3 separate regions of the Homo sapiens genome follow, and regions 1 and 2 are each linked to region 3. The links are contacts of gene promoters, found by promoter capture Hi-C in blood cells and fetal thymus (Javierre and others, 2016). All regions are on one chromosome and are shown on one strand. Each heading gives the region's core, a stretch centred on a gene start or on the middle of the fragment in contact. The rest is flanking DNA. Distances are from core to core; before and after follow the strand shown.

The links. The method cuts DNA at HindIII sites, captures the fragments that hold promoters and counts their contacts. A CHiCAGO score of 5 or more calls a contact.
Region 1: a contact is called between a fragment that was not itself captured here and the fragment with the promoter of CDH24 in region 3, in 16 of 17 cell types (erythroblasts, activated CD4 T cells, M1 macrophages and 13 more). The highest score is 13.7, in erythroblasts.
Region 2: a fragment that was not itself captured here is called in contact with the fragment with the promoter of CDH24 in region 3 in 2 of 17 cell types (erythroblasts and M0 macrophages); the score reaches 7.4 in erythroblasts.

What each region holds. Positions count from the first base shown.
Region 1 is chr14:22,969,021-22,973,606 of GRCh38, reverse strand. AJUBA (ajuba LIM protein) reads left to right here. Exons shown (of 8, transcript NM_032876.6): 8 at 39-2,430. The coding sequence ends at 164. Among named protein-coding and RNA genes, the nearest start is that of AJUBA, 11 kb to the left of the region's middle. The HindIII fragment of the contact is 1,286 bases long and covers 1,151-2,436 here.
Region 2 is chr14:22,949,833-22,953,824 of GRCh38, reverse strand. HAUS4 (HAUS augmin like complex subunit 4) reads left to right here. Exons shown (of 10, transcript NM_001166269.2): 3 at 1,142-1,284; 4 at 1,366-1,497; 5 at 2,136-2,270; 6 at 3,415-3,511. The region is part of intron 2 of PRMT5-DT (PRMT5 divergent transcript); the gene reads right to left. Among named protein-coding and RNA genes, the nearest start is that of MIR4707, 5.2 kb to the left of the region's middle. The HindIII fragment of the contact is 1,137 bases long and covers 1,215-2,351 here.
Region 3 is chr14:23,054,801-23,059,054 of GRCh38, reverse strand. CDH24 (cadherin 24) reads left to right here and starts at 1,535. Exons shown (of 13, transcript NM_144985.4): 1 at 1,535-1,652; 2 at 3,198-3,522; 3 at 3,702-3,996; 4 at 4,189-4,254. The coding sequence starts at 3,322. ACIN1 (apoptotic chromatin condensation inducer 1) reads left to right here. Exons shown (of 19, transcript NM_001386863.1): 19 at 1-491. It overlaps LOC105370705 (collagen alpha-2(I) chain-like), which reads right to left and starts at 1,395. Exons shown (of 2, transcript NR_169511.1): 1 at 1,013-1,395; 2 at 406-770. RefSeq lists silencers at 1,306-1,455, 1,536-1,655. The HindIII fragment of the contact is 16,339 bases long and covers 1-4,254 here.

The DNA.
Region 1 (4,586 bases), core at 544-3,043, 86 kb after region 3:
TGCCTAGGCTGAGGTGAACTAGGTGCCTTCTTCCCTAGGACTGCCGGATGCAGCTGAGTGATGAGGAAGGCTGCTGCTGTTTCCCTCTGGATGGGCACTTGCTCTGCCATGGTTGCCACATGCAGCGGCTCAATGCCCGACAACCCCCTGCCAACTATATCTGAGCTGCAATCACTGCTGCTGCTGTCACCCTGCAGACAAACTGCTGTGGCCAGTGGGCCCCTCTGAGGCCAGCCAAGGCAAAGAATGCACTCTGCAGGCCTGGCAGAAGAGTCCTCTGGGGAGGACCCCAAGGGCCGGAGACCCAAAGATCATGATATTCCAAATGGATTGTGGAAGAGAAACCTTATATTTACCAGGGTGGGGGCGACTGGCCTTTTTCCCATGTGTGCAGTCTGAGCTTAGGCACACACAGGAGGGTTCCAGGACTTTCTGAACATCTGATTCTGTATCTTCAGTATATATATTTTGTTTGTTTTAGAGATGGGATCTCACCATGTTGCCCAGGCTAGTCTTGAACTCCTGGGCTCGAATGATCCTCCCACCTTGGCCTCCCAAAGTGCTGGGATTATAGGCGTAAGCCACTGTGTCTGGCCTAGTGTATGATTATGCATGAGTCACGCAATGTTCTGGTCCTGGATTCCAGGAGTAGAGGACCTAGCTTTAAATCAATTAGTTTCAGCTAAACTGACTAGAACCAAATCAAAGTGTAATTCTCCCTCCAGCTCCCCCAAACCCCAGAGTTTTGGGGTTGTGGTTGATGCAGTGTGGGATGTCCCTGAGAGGTAGCAAGTCTAGGGTGGTGAGTTCCTGCTAGGCAACCAAATTTAAGCTCCTCACTTTTTGTGACACATGGTGTCAGATATGGGGTCCCGCACCTATATCTGGATGAAGAGGTAGAAACTCTGGACCTCATTAATGAGTTATTTCTTGGCCTTCTTCTAAGGACTAGGAGAGCTCCTTATCTGTCTGAGAATGGGGACCAGCTCTGAGTGGGGTTGCTGCCTGTATTCCCTGTTTCTCAGGAACTTACATGGGTCTGGGGAGGCTAGGTAGGTGATTGTACGTGGTTGCTCTTCTCCTTGGCTGGGGGAGGTAATGAGCAGATCTCTGTGGGTGTGGAGCTTGTTGGGGGGATGTCTAGGAAGCTTCAGCTTAGCCACATTCCCAAGTTTAGGTGCACTGAGCCATATAGCCCAGTGTATGCATGTGTGGGTGTGTTCATGCACACACACACTCTCTCTCTTGTCTCTCTGTCTCTCTCTCACTCTTTCTTACTCTCTTCTCAGGTCACTTGTACACTTGGTTTCCTAGTAGAAGCTCACTTGCCACCTCTCAGAGGGGTCCCGGATTGCATCCATCACAATCCCAAAACTAGAGTTGGGGGGAACTGGAGGGAGCAAAACACTGATTTGATACTAGTCAGTTTGCTTGAAACTAGTTCACCTAAAGCTAGATCTCTTAAAACCAATTTACTGAAAACTTGTTTGCTTAAAGTTAATGACTTAATGACTAATTTGCCAAAAGCTCAATTCCTATTTTGGTGTGTTTATATCCATTTAGGTGTCCTATTCTTTTTTGTCATGCTTTGGATATTTCAAGGATTTATATCTATTCATCCAAGAGTACTTCTGAGCTATTATCAGCAACATAAATTTATCAAATTTGCAGCACTTTGTAAATGATGAGATTGCTTCCTACCTTTATGGATGTCTTTTTCTATGTTATCTACCATTCAAAAACTTTTTTAAAAAGTTTAAAGTTTCTAGCAATAAATACAATTGGTACAGACATTTTGTGTATCATTTTTTTGTTTCTTAATCCAATATTCCTTTACAAATTAAATGCCTTGAAAAATATAATGGAGTTCAATGTGATTTTGATGCTTTGGTCTAACTTCTACATTCCTACTGTTAAAAAGGCCAGTATATCTTAAACAAATGAATAGGCATGAGGCATATTCAGTTGACTTACAATGAAAAGTTATACAGACAACAGTAATAACTAAAAGGGTGAATCTGCTAAATCCTTTTGAAATGCTGCAGATTTGATAAATATTTATTTTAGACTAATTGGTTTTAGGTGAATTGGTTTTAGGCAAATTAATTTAGTAATCTTTGATCTTTAGTCTTCATTTTCTGTCACTCAGTGAGTTTCTTACTGGAAATGATGACTCCTGACAACAGAATTTCCACATTTGGGGGCTATTCTAAGGTGACTATGCCAGCCAACCTGGGAAATACATAAAAGAGATCTCTGAGTGAGAGGGAAAGAGGTCAGATTTATACAACTGAGCGCCAGAGGGGAAAATGCACCTTGTTGGAGTGAGAAATGTTCTGAAACTGAATTACTTCTTGTACAGCTGAGATAGCTTCTTCTGAACTATTATTAAATAAGTGAATACAAAGGCCCTATGATGGGAAATCCAGACAAGCTTGTGTAACTTTACATCCATCCCCTCAGGGATATTTTTTTTTTTTTTTTTTTTTTTGAGACAGAGTCTCACTCTGTCGCCCAGGCTGGAGTGCAGTGGCGCTATCTCGGCTCACTGCAAGCTCCGCCTCCCGGATTCACACCATTCTCCTGCCTCAGCCTCCCAAGTAGCTGGGACTACAGGCGCCCGCCACCACACCCGGCTAATTTTTGTATTTTTAGTAGAGACGGGGTTTCACTGTGTTAGCCAGGCTGGTCTCGATCTCCTGACCTTGTGATCTGCCTGTCTCGGCCTCCCAAAGTGCTGGGATTACAGGCATGAGCCACTGTGCCCGGCTCTCAGGGTTTTTTTTTTTGACAGAATCTCGCTCTCTTGCCCAGGCTGAAGTGCAATGGTGCAATCTCAGCTCACTGCAACCTCCGTCTCCTGGGTTCAAGTGATTCTCCTGCCTCAGCCTCCTGAGTAGCTGGGATTATAGGCCGGCGCCACCACACCTGGCTAATTTTTGTATTTTTAGTAGAGACAGGGTTTTGCCATGTTGGCCAGGGTGATCTCAAACTCCTGACCTCAGGTAATCCGCCTGCCTTGGCCTCCCAAAGTGCTGGGATTACAGTTGTCAGCCACTGAGCCCTGCCTCTTTTTTTTTTTTTTTTTTTTAAGAGTTGGGAGTCTTGCCCAGGCACAGTGGCTCACCCCTGTAATCCCAGCACTTTGGGAGGCTGAGGTGGGAGGATCATGAGGTCAGGAGATCAAGACCATCCTGGCCAACATGATGAAACCTCGTCTCTACTAACAATAAAAAAATTAGCCAGGCATGGTGGGGTGCACCTGTAGTCCCAGCTACTTGGGAGGCTGAGGCAGGAGAATCGCTTGAACCCGGGAGGCGGAGATTGCAGTTAGCCATCGCGCCACTGCACTCCAGCCTGGGCAACAGAGCAAGACTCCATCTCAAAAAGAAAAAAAAAGGCCAGGTGCGGTGGCTCACACCTGTAATCCCAGTACTTTGGGAGGCCGTGGCAGGCAGATCACGAGGTCAGGAGATTGAGACCATCCTGGCTAACACGGTGAAACCCCGTCTCTACTAAAAGTACAAAAAATTAGCCAGGCGTGGTGGTGGGCTCCTGTAGTCCCAGCTACTCGGGAGGCTGAGGCAGGAGAATGGCGTGAACCCGAGAGGCAGAGGTTGCAGTGAGCTGAGATCATGCCAGTGCACTCCAGCCTCGGCAACAGAGCAAGCCTCCATCTCAAAAAAAAAAAAAAAAAAAAAGAGTTGGGAGTCTCACTCTGTCACCCAGGCTGGAGTGCAGTGGCACAATTATGGCTCACTGCAATCTCTGCCTCCCGGGTTCAAGCGATTCTCCCGCCTCAGCCTCCCAAGTAGCTGGGACTACAGGTGTGCACAACCATGACTGGCTAAGTTTAAAAAATTTTTTTTTAGAGACAGCATCTCACTATGTTGCCCAGGCTGGTCTTGAATTTCTGGCCTCAAGTGATCTCCCACTTTGGCCTCCTAAGTCACTGGGATTACAAGCATGAGCTTCTGTGCCCAGCTCCTGACCCTTTGTTTCTTACTCTGATTTTGGCCTCTTCTGTTCCTGATCCGACTCATTCCTTTCTAGGTCTGTGCTGATTGTCCTAGCCTTGGGGCTCCCCAAGACTCTGTTCTTGCCACTGAGGCTACTTCTTCCTGAGGAAAAATAAATGATAACAGCTGATAAGGGCAGGCCATGAAAAAAGAGCAGTCCTAGCCACCCCAGCACCATCACTGGCAGGCTCCCAGGTGTACCCTGCATCACAAGAGCTTCCCTTCTTCCTATTTGCTGGGAGACTAATCCTCCTCAATATTTCTGTTTAGTATTTACAGTTTTTTAGTATTTACAGTTGATGATGAAAGATTCGTGAGGTGCTGCCAAATATACATCAAAAGGTGGAGCTTGTTTGGCCAACTTGCCACCTGATTTAATCAACAACTACTAGTGCTGAGATGCAGAAAGGGGGAAAATGGAGGAATTATGGACCAAGTCTGTCTTTATAGATGACAGTCACAGGACAAGGGTTAGGCTTTGACTGCAGACTTCAGTCTTTGCTCTGGCCAGCCCTGTTCACCACAGGCCTGAATGGGTTATCAAAAATAAAGCTGGTGGCCGGGCGC
Region 2 (3,992 bases), core at 534-3,033, 110 kb after region 3:
CCCCGCCTCTACTAAAAATACAAAAAAAAAAAAAAAAATAGCTGGGCGTGGTGGCGGGTGCCTGTAGTCCCAGCTACTTGGGAGGCTAAGGCAGGAGAATGGCGTGAATCTGGGAGGTGGAGCTTGCAGTGAGCCGAGATCGTGCCATTGCACTCCAGCCTGGGTGACAGAGTGAGACTCCGTCTCAAAAAAAAAACAAAAAACAAAAAATATTAGCCAGGCATGGTGGCGCATGCCTGTAATCCCAGCTACTCGGGAGGCTGAGGCAGGAGAATCGTTTGAACCCGGGAGGTGGAAATTGCAGTGAGCCGAGATCACGCCATTGCACTCCAGCCTGGGCAACAAGAGCAAAACTCCATCTCAAAAGAAAAAAATAAAAAAGAATTTGGGCCAGCTGTGGTGACTCACACCTGTAATCCCAGCACTTTGAGATGCCAAGGTGGGAGGATCACTTGAGCCCAAGAGTTCAAGACCAGCCTGGGCAATGTAGTGAGACCCTGTCTGTAAAAAAAAAATTAGCCAGTCATCGTGGTTTGCCTTGTAGTCTCAGCTCCTCAGGAGGTGGAAGGATCGCTTGATCTGGGGAGGTTAAGGCTGCAGTGAGCTGTGATTGTGCCACTGCACTCCAGCCTGGGTGACAGAGTGAGACCCTGTCTCAAAAAGAAAAAAAAAAAATTGGTTAGTTGAACGTTTAACTTACTCTAAGTGTATTCTGTTAGTCTTGTTTATGCGACTACATATCACATCCAAAGTTGGAACTTCACGTGTTGTGTTTCTTTCCCCCTACTTCAAGAACTCTATTAATTTTGGATGAATGAGGCATTTTGTGTATTGTGATTCCTACTAACGGTCCCTTAATTTTTATTCTATTTGTCTAATATGTACCAACTGCATTTCCGTTTCCTAAGATCTTAGTTTATTACTTATTCCCCCTTAATATCCTTGTATATAATATAAATGCTTGTTACCTTGAATATTACCCTTGTTTATTTGTGGATTTTTAAAAAATCTCATTAGATTTAGCAATCTTTCCTATAAAAATCCTAGGGGTTTTTTGGAAGTATTAAGTTATGCTCAGTTATGTAAAGTAAGAGTCCACACCTTTTTTGTTTTTTTGTACCTGTGGGGACATGATGTTAAGTGTGCAGCAAACAACTTCCTCCTTGTAACCTGAGTAAAGAGGACCTGTTACAGAACCCATACTTCAGCAAGCTTCTCCTGAATCTCTCACAGCATGTGGATGAGAGTGGCTTAAGCCTCACCCTAGCAAAGGAGCAGGCTCAGGTAAGGGCTTTGGGAGAAGAGATAAGAAGAAGGGAAAATCCTGAGAGAGAGGTTCCTACCTGAGATTTTTTGGATTTCTAGGCATGGAAGGAAGTTCGACTGCATAAGACAACATGGTTGAGGTCTGAGATTTTACACAGAGTCATTCAAGAGTTGCTTGTGGACTACTATGTGAAGATACAAGACACAAATGTAACTTCTGAGGACAAAAAGGTGAGGCAAAGGCTGGGCGTGGTGGCTAACACCTGTAATCCCAGCACTTTGGGAGCCCCAGGCAGGCTGATCACTTGAGGTCAAGAGTTTGAGACCAGCCTGGCCAACATGGTAAGACCCCGTCTCTACTAAAAATACAAAAATTAACCAGGTGCAGTGGCACACGCCTGTAATCCCAGCTACTCGGGAGGCTGAGGCAGCAGAATCGCTTGAACCTGGGAGGCGGAGATTGCAGTGAGCCGAGATTGCGCCACAGCACTCCAGCCTGGGTGACAGAGCGAAACTCAGTCTCAAAAAAAAGTGAGGTGAAAGAAATGAGGTGGGGTTGGTTACCAGTTACAGGAATGACCAGGCCAACTGTGGCTTTGTCTGATGATGTGATCTAGGGGAAGTAGGAGCTTTGAGAAATGGTTTGTCAAAAGAGAAATGGACTGTAGTTATGGGGAAGGAGTGGATGTGTTATCAGAGTTTGTAATAGAAACATTGACAGAAGTCACTCGCAGCTGAGTTATCTGAGGGGGGATGATATATTTGAGGACTTTGAAAATATGTGAAAAACTGGTTCATAAGGATGGAAGAGGTGGAGTGGGAGAAGTTTTATAGTTGCCTCTTTTTGTTTTTTATTCTCTCTCTCTCAGTTTCATGAGACCCTTGAACAGCGGCTGCTTGTAACTGAACTGATGCGGCTCTTAGGTCCTAGCCAGGAGAGGGAGATACCTCCACTGCTGGGGCTGGAGAAAGCGGACCTTCTGGAACTCATGCCACTCTCAGAGGTTGGCGGGGAGATATTGGAACCAAATAAATGAAATGGTTTAATTTCTCCCATATCTTTAAAATGTTTTTTTTGTCAAGCTTTATTGTTTTTGTAAAAATGATACACATTCAGGGTGGTCAGACTCAAATAAGAAAAACGTTACACAGGAGCAAGTAAAAGCTGAAATACTGCATCTAGAAGCACAATATTATTATAAACAGCTTGACATAAATGGTATTATACCCTTCATGCTTATATAGAGAGTATAAGGCCGAGTGTAGTGACTTCCGCCTATAATCGTAGCACTTTGGGAGGCTGAGGTGGGAGGATCACTTGAGTTCAGGAGTTCAAGACCAGCCTGGGCAACATAGTGAGACCTCGTCTCTACCAAAAAAAAAACAAAACAAAAGCCAGGTTTGGTGGTGCACACCTGTAGTCCCAGCTACTCGGGAGACAGAGGCAGGAGGATGACTTGAGGGTGGGAGGTCAAGGCTGTAGTGAGCTGTGATCATGCCACTGTACTCCAGCCTGGGCACAGAGTGAGACCCTGTCTCAAAAAAAGAAAAGTACAGTCTATTTTCATGTAATATATTTTGGATTTCTTTTCAAGTCAATACATAAATGTAAATAAGATGATAGCTTCTATAGCACTGTTAGCAAAGTATCTAGGCACATAGTGCTTAGTGTTATGTCATCAGTTTAAATCTCTGCTAGGATTCTATTATATGGATGTAGAATAATTTGCTTAACCTTATTGGTGGATATTAAGGTTGTTTCCACATTTTTGCTGTTAGAAACCACAGGGAGATGAACATGCTGGTTCATATGTGTCTTTACCTTTGTATGATTATTTCTGTAATGCTGGTGCTAAAAGTGGGATTCCTGAGTCAGTGCATACTCATACAGAATATTGGTACCTAATGCCAAACTGCTATCCAGAAAGGTATTTTCAGGGCTCCTGGATCCCCCATGTTCTCACCAACATGGGGTCTTGACAGTCATTTTATTCTTCGCTAATTTGATAGGTGAAAAATGAGTCTCTCTGATGTCTCTTGATGCATTTTCTTTGGCTATTATTGAGGTTATCATCATGTATTCATTGGCTGAGACGTCCTAGTTTTTACAGTCTATTCGCATTTCTGCCTTTACTTCTATGACTGTAGGATTTTGTGTGGATGAGGGCTCGGCTACAGCAAGAAGTAGAGGAGCAGCTCAAAAAGAAATGTTTCACTCTGCTCTGCTACTATGATCCCAATTCAGGTGAGTGCTAGCTGTCTGTTCTGCTCACAGCTGGACTTCAGGGTTCCTGGTCTGCTCTTTTGAGAATAATATATTTTGATTTTAGATTTGGGACAGAGGTTTAGAACCATCAGAGATGCTTATTTGTTTTGTTGCTGGTAGAATAAAAACAAGGACTTTTTGTTTTTTTGTTTTTTTTTTTTTTTGAGATGGCGTTTTGCTCCTGTTGCCCAGGCTAGAGTGCAATGGCGCCATTTCTGTTCACCGCAAGCTCCTCCTCCTAGATTCAAGTGATTCTCCTGCCTCAGCCTCCCGAGTAGCTGGGATTACAGGCATGCGCCACCCCGCTCGGCTAATTTTGTATTTTTAGTAGAGATGGGGTTTCTCCATGTTGATTAGGCTGGTCTGGAACTCCCAACCTCAGGTGATCCGCCTGCCTCGGCATCCCAAAGTGCTGGGATTACAGGTGTGAGCCACCACACCCGGCCAAAACAAGGACCTT
Region 3 (4,254 bases), core at 286-2,785:
AAGGGTCTTTCACATCACCTATCCCTACATACATACCAAATGGAAAAGTGGCCATCCTTTTCCCCCCAAACACACCCCCTTAACCTATCTCTTGGGACTTAGCCCGACCCTCCCTCTCATTTCCCATTAAGTCTGAGAGGCAAGAGCTAGGTTAGGCAAGGAGGTGGTTGGCCAGAGATGGGGAACAGCCAGGTGCCCCAGTCCTCTGATTTTTCCTCCATCCTGCTTACCACCTCCCTGGGTACTTACAGCCTTCTCTTGGGAACAGCCGGGGCCAGGACTGGGTCACCTATGAGCTGAATCAGCATCTCCTCCTGAGTCCCAGGGCCCCTGCAGTTCCCAGTCTCTTCTGTCCTGCAGCCCTTGCCTCTTTCCCACAGGTTCCACTTTATATCCACCTTTTCCTTTTGTTCAATTTTTATTTTTATTTTTTTTATTATTAAATGATGTGGTCTATGGAAAAAAAAATAAAAATCTGACTTAGTTTTAAACTGTGTGAGTGGCTTTCTTTGGGCAGGTTAAGAAGCCACTGTGGATATCTGAGCGTGGACATCTGAGGATATCTGGAGTAGGAGTTGCTCTCATTCCATGTGTTCCTTTAGGCTGACTGCTTCCTGCTTATTGAACTTCCCACGTCTTTTATCCCCTGCCTTGGCCCTGACCAACCCAAAGCTGTGGACCTTCCTCATTCGGGAAGGCATGGAGCAACCTGTGTCCGTGGCGGCACCCCAGCAGGGCTAGGAGGGTGGGTCCTCTTCTGGTTCCTGGTCCTGTGCACGGTTAAATTAGGGGTTTGGTCACCTGCCTGCCACCTTGGTGCCTCCCACAACTACCACCAGGGGGCGGCAGCTCCTCGCTCTGTTGGCCCCTGTAACCGAGCTTCCCAAGAAGGGTTCCACTGCCCGCCTCCGACCTCCCGCCGATGTCGTGCCTCTGTTCCCGACCCGCTCCCTGGGCCCGGGCCTCGGACTCTCTGGACCCTTCTGCCGTCCTTAAGTGTCCCCCAGCTGACCTGCTACCGTGCTTTGCATGGGCTCTCAAAACGCCGCCGCCTTGCAGCTGGGATTCCATCCACACCAGTCCCAAAAGCCAGCCGGGAACCGGGAGCCCGGAGCCGGGTCTCTCCGCAGTGGGCTCCGAATTCCCCACCTCACCGCGCGCTCGCCCGTTTTCCGCTGCGGGCGGGGACTGGCAGCTTCGCGCTCCCGGGTGCACCCGCCCCGCCAGCTCTTCGGAAATGGCCTGGCGCCGTGGCCTGGACGTCCTCCCGCCCGAGTGCCCTGCCGGGCGCTGCGGGCCCGGTCCGGGAGGGGCGCCGCATCTGTATGCGCCCCGCAGCCCAGGAGCGCCGAGGGGGCGGACGCGCGGCGCCGCCTCCGCCCCCGCCCCCGCCGCGCGGGCCCGGCTGGCCGGGGAGGGTCGGAGGCTGGGCTCTCCTCTCCCGCGCGGCGCGGAGCCGCCTCGCTCCTCCGCAGGCGGAGTCTTCTTCCCCCGCCCCCTCCGTCTCGCTCCCTTGTTCTCGCCGGGGCCGCTCAGACCTGCAGCGGAGCCGCGGCGCCCGCTCCAATCGGCTCGGGGCTGTGCCCCCGGGACCCGGCGACGGGGGCGGGCGGGGGCGCTTCCCGCCGGCCTGGGCCCCTCGGCAGTGCCAGGTAAGGGCGCCTGCCCCGGAGCAGGGGTCGGGAATCCGCGGAGGGGTAGGAGGGGGCCCGCAGCCTGCGGGGGTCTTCGGAGGGGTGCGCTCCGTGGCTGGGAGCCCGCTGCCGGCTCCCTTCTCCCGCGCTCTGCCTCTTTCCCTTCTCCCCTCGCACCTCTCTCCCTCTTTCTTCTCTCGATTTCTCTTCACCCTTCCTTCTCTGCCTGTTTGCCTTCCTTATCCCTTCCCTCTGTCTCCCCAACCCTTCCCTCTCCCTCTTGTCCTTTTTCCATCTCCTCTCCCTCTTTGCCTTTTTCTTTCTCTACCTTTCTCCCCTTTCCTGCCTTTCTCTTTTCTCTTTCTTGCTCTCCTTTCCCTCCCTCTCCTCTCCCCTTCCTGCTATCCTGTTTCCCACTCCTCTATCCCCTTCCTTCTCGCCTCCTCATCCCGCCTTCTCTCTGGTCCCCAGCCTTCCTCCGGTTTCCCCCTTCCCTCGGGAGCAAAGGGACTGTCAGGTGTGTGTCTGCTCTGAGGGAGGAGGGGCAGAAGCCACAGCTACCTGAGGGGTCCTCCCCCCCGCCCCTAGGAGAAAGGAGAGCAGTGGGAAGGGTCTCCTCTCTAGCTCCCTTCCCGTGGCCCCTCCCTGCCTCCACCCCTCCTGTCTGCTCCTTCTCCCAGAATTAAGTTCCCGAGGCCTGGCTTGACACCCCCGAAGCTGAGGTCTGCCCCTGCCTGCCCGGAACTGCCCCCGGTGACCCGTTTCCAAGCCTGGCCCCTAGGACTCCTCTCTGCCTTCAGACACCCAGGCTGCTGCCCTGGTCTCTCTCATTCTGTCTCTTGCCACTGTTCTGTTTCTGTCTCTCATCCAGTCATTTCTCTGCCGGACAGTCCCTGAGTCAGTCTAGCCGTCAGTCATTATCTGTCTCTAGCCTCTGGGTGGACCTCTCTCCCCGGTCACCTCCCCCTGTCCCCCACCCTGTATCCTCTTCCTTCAGCTCTGGCTCCCAACTCCTGTCTCACGAGCCCAGTCCCCCTTCAAGGACTGCACTGGCAGCGTGGGCTGGAGACAGGGCCTGGAGAGTGGGGCTCCCCCTTGTGGGGAGGGACTTTCACAGACTCTCAGCCCTGCCTGAGGCTGCACTCCTTGTCATCTCATGCTGACCCTAGACACCTTAAGGCCACACCTCCATGAATCCCAACTCCGTAATTTTAAGCCCTTTCTCTGGTAGCCCCGCCTCCTCCAATACCTGGCTACGTGCCCAACCTGGGAGGACAGAGACCAGATTTGGGATTCCAAGCCCTCCCAGCATCCCCTCTCCTGTGTTCCTCCCCAGTTCTCTACTCAGAGTTGACTGACCAGAGATTTATCAGCTTGGAGGGCTGGAGGTGAATACATGCAGAGCCTGGGTGGAGGAAGGATCAGCCTCTCTGCTCTCTGTCTTAGTCTGAGTTCTGGGCAGTGGAGTGTCTGGTTCCTTGGAGGTCTGGTCTTCAGCATCTAATTTTGCGGGGGAGGAGGGCTAGGGGTTTCCTTGAGCCTGAGCAGCTGCTTGTCCTGCAGGTGTGGATCCATGGGGTAGCCTCAACGCATCTGCCCCTCCACCCCAGCCAGCTCATGGGCCACGTGGCCTGGCCCAGCCTCAGCACCCAGGGCCAGTGAACAGAGCCCTGGCTGGAGTCCAAACATGTGGGGCCTGGTGAGGCTCCTGCTGGCCTGGCTGGGTGGCTGGGGCTGCATGGGGCGTCTGGCAGCCCCAGCCCGGGCCTGGGCAGGGTCCCGGGAACACCCAGGGCCTGCTCTGCTGCGGACTCGAAGGAGCTGGGTCTGGAACCAGTTCTTTGTCATTGAGGAATATGCTGGTCCAGAGCCTGTTCTCATTGGCAAGGTAAGGATGACCCCTCCCATGTCTACTCTGACACCAAGCCCTCAGGCCCTGCCCTGCAACTTCATCACTTCTGCAATGACCTTGGTCCCTCAGGACTCCCAACGCTCTACCCAAACCTAGACTCTTTAACCCTGTCTCTGTACTTGGAGCCCTCTGCCATCTTTTCGTGACCCCTGCAGCTGCACTCGGATGTTGACCGGGGAGAGGGCCGCACCAAGTACCTGTTGACCGGGGAGGGGGCAGGCACCGTATTTGTGATTGATGAGGCCACAGGCAATATTCATGTTACCAAGAGCCTTGACCGGGAGGAAAAGGCGCAATATGTGCTACTGGCCCAAGCCGTGGACCGAGCCTCCAACCGGCCCCTGGAGCCCCCATCAGAGTTCATCATCAAAGTGCAAGACATCAACGACAATCCACCCATTTTTCCCCTTGGGCCCTACCATGCCACCGTGCCCGAGATGTCCAATGTCGGTGAGCACCCCAGCTCTGAATGCCCCAGTTCCCGTCTTCTGGAGCTCTCTCACCTCTCCTTCCCTTCTTGTTGTCTGCCCCAGAACCTGCCCCCTTCAATTCAGCCTCCCTCGTATCTGCATCCCCCCCCATCGGTTGTTCTTCCCCATCCTTCCCTGCTGCTGCTGAATGGCGTGCTGGCATCCCCCACAGGGACATCAGTGATCCAGGTGACTGCTCACGATGCTGATGACCCCAGCTATGGGAACAGTGCCAAGC